Linked DNA regions of Homo sapiens: region 1 is linked to region 2. The links are contacts of gene promoters, found by promoter capture Hi-C in blood cells and fetal thymus (Javierre and others, 2016). All regions are on one chromosome and are shown on one strand. Each heading gives the region's core, a stretch centred on a gene start or on the middle of the fragment in contact. The rest is flanking DNA. Distances are from core to core; before and after follow the strand shown. Region 1 overlaps NHSL3 (NHS like 3). Region 2 holds the start of ZBTB8B (zinc finger and BTB domain containing 8B).

The links. Contacts are between HindIII fragments. The CHiCAGO score rates a contact against its expected background, and 5 or more counts as called.
Region 1: a fragment that was not itself captured here is called in contact with the fragment with the promoter of ZBTB8B in region 2 in 1 of 17 cell types (M1 macrophages); the score reaches 5.2 in M1 macrophages.

The regions. Positions count from the first base shown.
Region 1 is chr1:32,764,672-32,767,819 of GRCh38, forward strand. It overlaps NHSL3 (NHS like 3), which reads left to right. Exons shown (of 7, transcript NM_020888.3): 2 at 3,116-3,148. Among named protein-coding and RNA genes, the nearest start is that of NHSL3, 24 kb to the left of the region's middle. RefSeq lists enhancers at 971-1,863, 1,864-2,757. The HindIII fragment of the contact is 3,729 bases long and covers 1-3,148 here.
Region 2 is chr1:32,463,454-32,466,736 of GRCh38, forward strand. ZBTB8B (zinc finger and BTB domain containing 8B) reads left to right here and starts at 1,619. Exons shown (of 4, transcript NM_001145720.2): 1 at 1,619-1,652. The HindIII fragment of the contact is 8,233 bases long and covers 1-3,283 here.

The sequences.
Region 1 (3,148 bases), core at 175-2,674, 300 kb after region 2:
ATGTTGGGCCAGGCTGATCTCGAATTCCTGACCTCAAGTGATCTGCCCACCTTGGCCTCCCAAAATGCTGGGATTACAGGCGTGAGCCACAGCAATCTTAAAAAGAGGAGTTATTAGCCTTATTTTCATATGAGATCGTGACTTGTGTGATGGAGCTGGATTTGAACCTCGACCTGACTTCTTTTCCAGTACTTCTCCACCTCACCTCCTTTTTTACTGCCTTCACCCATGGACTGTTTCTTGGCTAATTCTGTTCTCCCTGCCTGGTGATCCAGGACAGAATCACTGACAGCGTGGGGCCAATGTGAAGAATTCCAGGCTAGGGGAGAAGGAGGTCTGCTTTGAAGTCTAGCCTCTGCAAGATTAAGTGTGATCTTGGAGAGTTTACTGTGTTTCTCTGGGCTTCTGATGTCACATTGCCAAAGTAGGAAGAAAGTCCTTTGGAAAGTGTGGGGCTGAACCTATGTATGAGGGGCTGTACTGCCAGCCACTGTGGTTCTGCTCTGGGCATCTCCCTGGCTTCCCAGGACTGTGTCCTGGGACTGGCCCCTGCCCCTCTGGGGGCCTCTGCCCACAGCCTTGCCATCCCACTAGCAGCTCTGGGCTCCTGCCTGGCTGCTGCAGGCTCCGAGCTCTTTCCCCAGGGAATTACGCTAGGCAGCCAGGAGGCTTGCAGGTGGGCACCCTGCCAAGTCTAGTCTGGTAGCCCCTCCACCTACCATCTGGCAGCTGGGACCCCTGCCTTAACTCTGGACTTGCAGGCAGGGTGAGTGATCTGCTGCTGGATTGAGTATCTTCGGTCCTCCTAATCATACTCTACTGGAGCAGAGCACCCACGGACTCCTGGCCTCAGTTGCCTTTCTGTGCCCCTGCACCCCATTTAAGGGGTGGGGTCGGCAGATGGGCGGGATCAGTGGCGAAGGTGGGAGGAGGACATGGAGAGCAGCCCCTCCCCCTCCTCTGTCTGGAGCCGGTGCTCTGCGGCGGGGCGGGAGGGCTCGCATCCCCATAGTGCTGGGTTACAGTGAAGGTACGCCCCGCGCTCTGCTCTGGAGAGGCAGGGTGGGATAGGGAACGTCTCGAGTGGCGCCCGCAGTCATGGTGGTGTTCGTTGGCCGCCGCCTCCCGGCGCTCCTAGGGCTGTTTAAGAAGAAGGGTGAGTGGGTGTGGCTTGGGGGGAGGGGAGGGATGCTCGATGCCTCCCTTTCCCAGACCCTTATGTAGAATGAGGAATCAAGGCTGGGCAAAAGTAATGGGGTGGGGCTGGGGGCTGATAATGAGGCCAGAATCTCCCATCCGGCTGTGCTTTTGTCCAGCCGCTTTGTTGCTGCCTTTGTCTGGGCCCTGCTTGTGGGTTGGGAGGATGGATCCAGGTGTCTCTGACCTTGAAGCCTGCAGCCCTCCCGTGAGACTTGCCTCCCTGCCGGGGTACCCACACTTTACTGGGTACAGCCTCCCAGTCAAGATGTACTAGCCTTTCCTAGTGTGCCGGGGAGGATGGGACGTGGGCGGCCCAGAAGAGAGGAGAGTAGTACCACTGGAAGTTGGGAAGCCTGCTCAGTGAAATCCTGTTTAGAGGCCTGGGAATGGAGAAGTTTTGGAGGGAGGGGCCTGTTCCTCCTTCCTTCTCCTAGGAATTGGGCTTTCAGACCTGGATTAAGACATAGGGACAAGAGTTTATTGGACTTTTGAGGGTTGGGGGCCCCTACTCTGAGTGTGATCCGGGAGTCCCCTCTGGGAACCTGGAGTTGAGTCCAGGGTCAGTCTGACTCCTACTGCTGGGTGACCTTAGGCAAGGCCTTGCCCCTTTGAACCGTTTCCCCACTTGTAAAATCTGGGGATCTCGGGCACTGGTCTGGTTGGATCTGTTGGGGGCCTCCTAGCTCTGACCTGTGGGATTCCTGCAGACTCCCTAGGGCAGGAGCTCTGGCTGTTGACGAATGGGCTGAGGGAGGAGGAAAGGCAGGTTTCTGAACTGAAGACCCTGCTCCTGGAGCATGGCCCTTTAAAGGGCTTGTTTTGTTCCCGTCCCTTTATAAGGTGTTACCAAGGTCACATGACCCTTCCAGCGCTTTTGCTTATGTTGTGGGTTTCATTTAAAGGGGGGGCTGGGGCTGCAAAGTGCTGACACAGCCCCCCATCCCCAGGATTAGATGGCCAGCCCCTCCACAGGCGGGGCTTGTAACAGGATCCTTTGTAATGGATCCCTGGCTCCTCTGCAACAGGGGCCAGGGCCAGGGCCAGGGCCTCCAGGAGAGGGGGATACCTGGGACTATTTCCCCAAGAGAGACTGGAGCTCCCTTGGGCGGGTGGAGGGGCCTGGGTCTTTCTTCTCCCCTCCCCTGCCCATCCTTCCACTAAGGGGCAGCCACATGGGTGAGTAGGGGACCCAGGAGGCTATCTCCTTGGTCTGCATCCCCCCTAGGATTTTCTGGGAATATGGTTGTAACTCATGCCAGCTGTCTCTCCTTCCTGATTTCCCGTGATATCTTCTTCCTGGACCTGGTTCAAGTGGTGGCATGAAAAGAGTGGTTTGTTTTCCTGTGAAGTGGGGTTTTGGGTATGGAGGCGAGAGCAATGTATTTACTATGGGCTATGTGTATACTCGGGATGTTTTTTGTGGGGCTCTGAGTGACGTGTGAGTACATAGTCGTGTGTATACTTGGTTACTGTTTGTGTATATACAGAGCAGGGACTGTGGGTGTTGTGTGTTTACGTGCGGGCTGGGTGTGCTTGGTGTGTGTACCTATGTGTGTTTATACTCGGATGCCCTTTGTTTATATACATGAATGACATCTGTGAGTGCTGTGTACGTACACAGTAGACCTGTGTACCTGTGTGCCCTGTGTGTGGGGCCTTATATGGGGCCCTTTGTGTGGTGTGGGTACTCAGATTTATGTACACTTGGGTGTAGTTTGTGTATATGGGGGCTGTGTGTGTTGAGTGTTTACTCCAGAACTGTGGGTTATGTGTCCAGACTGGGGAAGGGGGCATTGCTTGTATATGCAATGGCCGTGTGCAGTCTGGGGACCATGACTGCCCTTGCCGTGAGACCTGTGCCCCTGCAGGGCCCAGATGCCTTTACCTCATTTCCCTTCCTCCTCCCTCCTACTAGGCTCTGCCAAGGCTGAGAATGACAAACATCTAA
Region 2 (3,283 bases), core at 369-2,868:
TTTGTTTTGTTTTGTTAAGTATAAAACCTCACCTGGAAGCACCAGCCCTTTCTGAGTGTGCGGGCCTGTGCCACTGCGTGGGTTGCACGTCCATTAAGCTGGTCTACCTGCCATCCACTTCCTCAACCCAATGGCATTCTCCTGTTTCTTAGATATGTACCAACCGGTTTTCTGTTTTATCTTAGCATGGCTCACTACTCCTCATTAGGGTCTCTCAGCGAAGGGGGTAGCCTTTTTTTTTTTTTTTTTTTTTTTTGAGACAGAGTCTTGCTCTGCTGCCCAGGCTGGAGTGCAGTGGCCAGATCTCCACTCACTGCAATCTCTTTGGTTCAAGCATTCTCCTGCCTCAGCCTCCCAAGTAGCTGGGATTACTGGCCCACGCCCGGCTAATTTTTGTATTTTTAGTAGAGATGGGGTTTCACCATGTTGGCCAGGCTGGTCTCGGACTCCTGACCTCAGGTGATCCACCCGCCACCACTCCAGCCTGGGCAACAGAGTCTGAGACTCCGTCTCAAAAAAAAAAAAAAAAAAAAAAAAAAAGTCATACTGGCATAGAGTGAACCCCTAATCCAATATGACTGGTATCCTTATAAAAATACTTTTTTTTTGGAGACGGAGTCTCTCTCTGTCGCCCCAGGCTGGAGTGCAGTGGCGCGATCTCGACTCACTGCAACCAAAAGGAGACATTTTGACATGGAGACATATACAGGGAATATGCCCTGTGAACATGAAGATGGCCATATGCAAGCCCAGGAGAGAAGCCTGGAAGAGACCGTTTCCTCACAGCGCTCAGAAGGAAAGAACCCTGCCAACATCTTGCTTTCAGATGCCCCCAGGATTGTCAGACAATAAGATCTGTTATTGACGCCACCGGGTTGGTGATACTTAGGTACAGCAGCCCTAGCAAACGAATACACCCCCATGAGAACTAAGCTCCCTGAGAGCGGTAAGCTGCCTTGTCTTGCTCACAGCTGACAAGAACACGCCTGTACGGTCACTTAGCACCTAGTACTGCCATTTAACCGTTTCACTAGTATGTATGAACCGGAGAGCCTGTCAAGGGAAGAGCTGAATCTTTTATCTTTTGTAACGACTACCCAGTGAAAGAAACCGCGGGTATGCAATAAAAACCTGTTGAATCGATTAAACCATTTCCCTTATTTCCAGATTTTTGCGGAAAGCGCCAGTAGGTGAAATATGTGCGGACTGATGAGTCAAAGCTCTTATTCCCTGGACTGCATTAATACCCACGACGTGCTTTTCGCTCTCCAGACAAAGAGACCGGTACTTGGCAGGTCCCTCAAGTGGGACTCAAAAGACCGAACCGAGCTGCAGCCTTTCGCTAGCACTGGTCCTCGCCCCTTTTGGCATCTTGGTACTTGTAGTTTTGTCCACTCTATCTTTACCCGAAAAGCCAGCGCTGAGACCACAACTCCCATCACCCTGCGAGCACCAGCGCCTTCAGAGCGCATCCTCCGAGGGGCACCAGCGCCATTGACCACCCTGCTGGCCGAAGGGCCCGCCTTCCCGAGGCCAGGCGCTCCCGCGATTGGCCAGCCGCCCCGCCTCTCATCGGAGGGCGCCAGGTGAATGAAAGGGGGGCGTGTCGGTGCGCGGTGCTCCGTGGCTGCGCTGCTGGAACCCGCTGGAAGGTGAGCGCGAAGAAGCGGGTTGGCGCTGCCGCTTTCGTTGGTTTGGGGAGGATTCCTAGCACCCGGGAGGCTGGCTGGAGATTGGGGTTAGCGGGCAGGGTTGCCCCCACTCAGTCATCCTCCTTCGGACCGCTTGGCCCTGGCAACTCCTGGGACCTCCGCCCCGCGAGCCCTTCTAGCGTGGGGAGGGGCAGGCGCGGCCGTGGGGCCCCAGCTTCCCTGTCATTGGGTGTCCTCCGCGTCGTCCAGCCGGGGGTCGCGGCGCCGACTACTTCCACGGTGAATGGTGCCCAGGCGTGGGGGGCTCGGCCACACTGGAGAAGTGCCAGCGGCAGCGATGGCCACTTTGTCCGCGGGAGGCCATGGGAGGGGCTAGGCCTTGGGGTCCCACCCTCGGGGGCCGTGCCCTGTAGCTGGTTCTGGTGGCCTCTCTGCAGGTCGTCTGATGCTGGACGGGGGAGGGTCTGTCTTGCGAGCAGTTTAGATGCAGTTGACCCTGAAATTCTTCGTATGGAAATGGAAACTTCTCCAGTGTCCTTCTCCTCCGATCCATGCCTAAAAGAAAGGAGTGACTTCCCCAACCTGTCGCATCGTGTCCTGGAGGGTTTGAGGAGGCCGGTTAGCATAGTGGTTAAGGATGTCAACCCGGGAGTCAGTCGGATCTCTGTTCTATTACTAACTTGGTGATGTTATCTGCATCTTTGAATCTCAGTTCCTCCTCTGAAAAAGAGGATGTAGTTAGAGTATCTGTCGTACTGGATTATTGTGAGGTGAAAACTAATGTGCTTGTAAAAGCCAGGCATGGTGGCGCGCACCTGTAGTCCCTGCTACTCGGGAAGCTAAGGTTGGGAGGATCTCTTGAGCCCAGGAGTTCCAGGCTGCATTGAGGTAGGATCGTGCACTCCAACCTGGGCAACCGAGCAAGACCGTGCCTTTTAAAAATTTTAATTTAAAAAGTAAAATGAATATGCTTGTACTTTGTACAGTGTTTTATAAGGAATAGTGCTTAATATTTACTAAAATTGAGGAGCAGGTTTTTGTTATTCTCAGGTTGGTGGGACTGGAGGAGTCTTGTCAGAAAGGGTCGGAGGTGGAATTCAAGGCTGCTTTTGGCCTCTGAACAGAGACAGTTGTGTGATCTGGCTAGGACTCCCTCAAGGGTATATGAGAGTTTGTATTGCAGGTAGTTGTGTTGGCATCTGCTGTCTCCTGGAGGACAGGCACTATACTTGGTTCATTTTTCTATTCCTGGCATCTTCCTTGTGTCAGGCATTGTATGTAGCCGGTAACCGTTGAATTGAGTTGGAACCGTGGGATGGTTGGGAGGTTCCCTGCCAGAGTGCGGATAAATGTGCTTCTGAGAGCAGTCTGCCCTAAGAGCTGCTCTTCTGGGATAAGTGGTGATCCTCAGCACTTCCCGGGGCAGCAGAGCACTTCAGGCAAATGGGGGTGATATAAATAAATATTTACACAATATATACCAAGTACAGGATTGGGGAAAATTTTGAAGAAAATACTATACGGATAGACTTTTGCAACGTCAGGAAGTAGAATAAAAATAATTGCAATAGAATAAAAAATAATTTCAGTAAGAAAGCCAAAAGAAATTGGTTTTAGGTGCTATTTCTGGA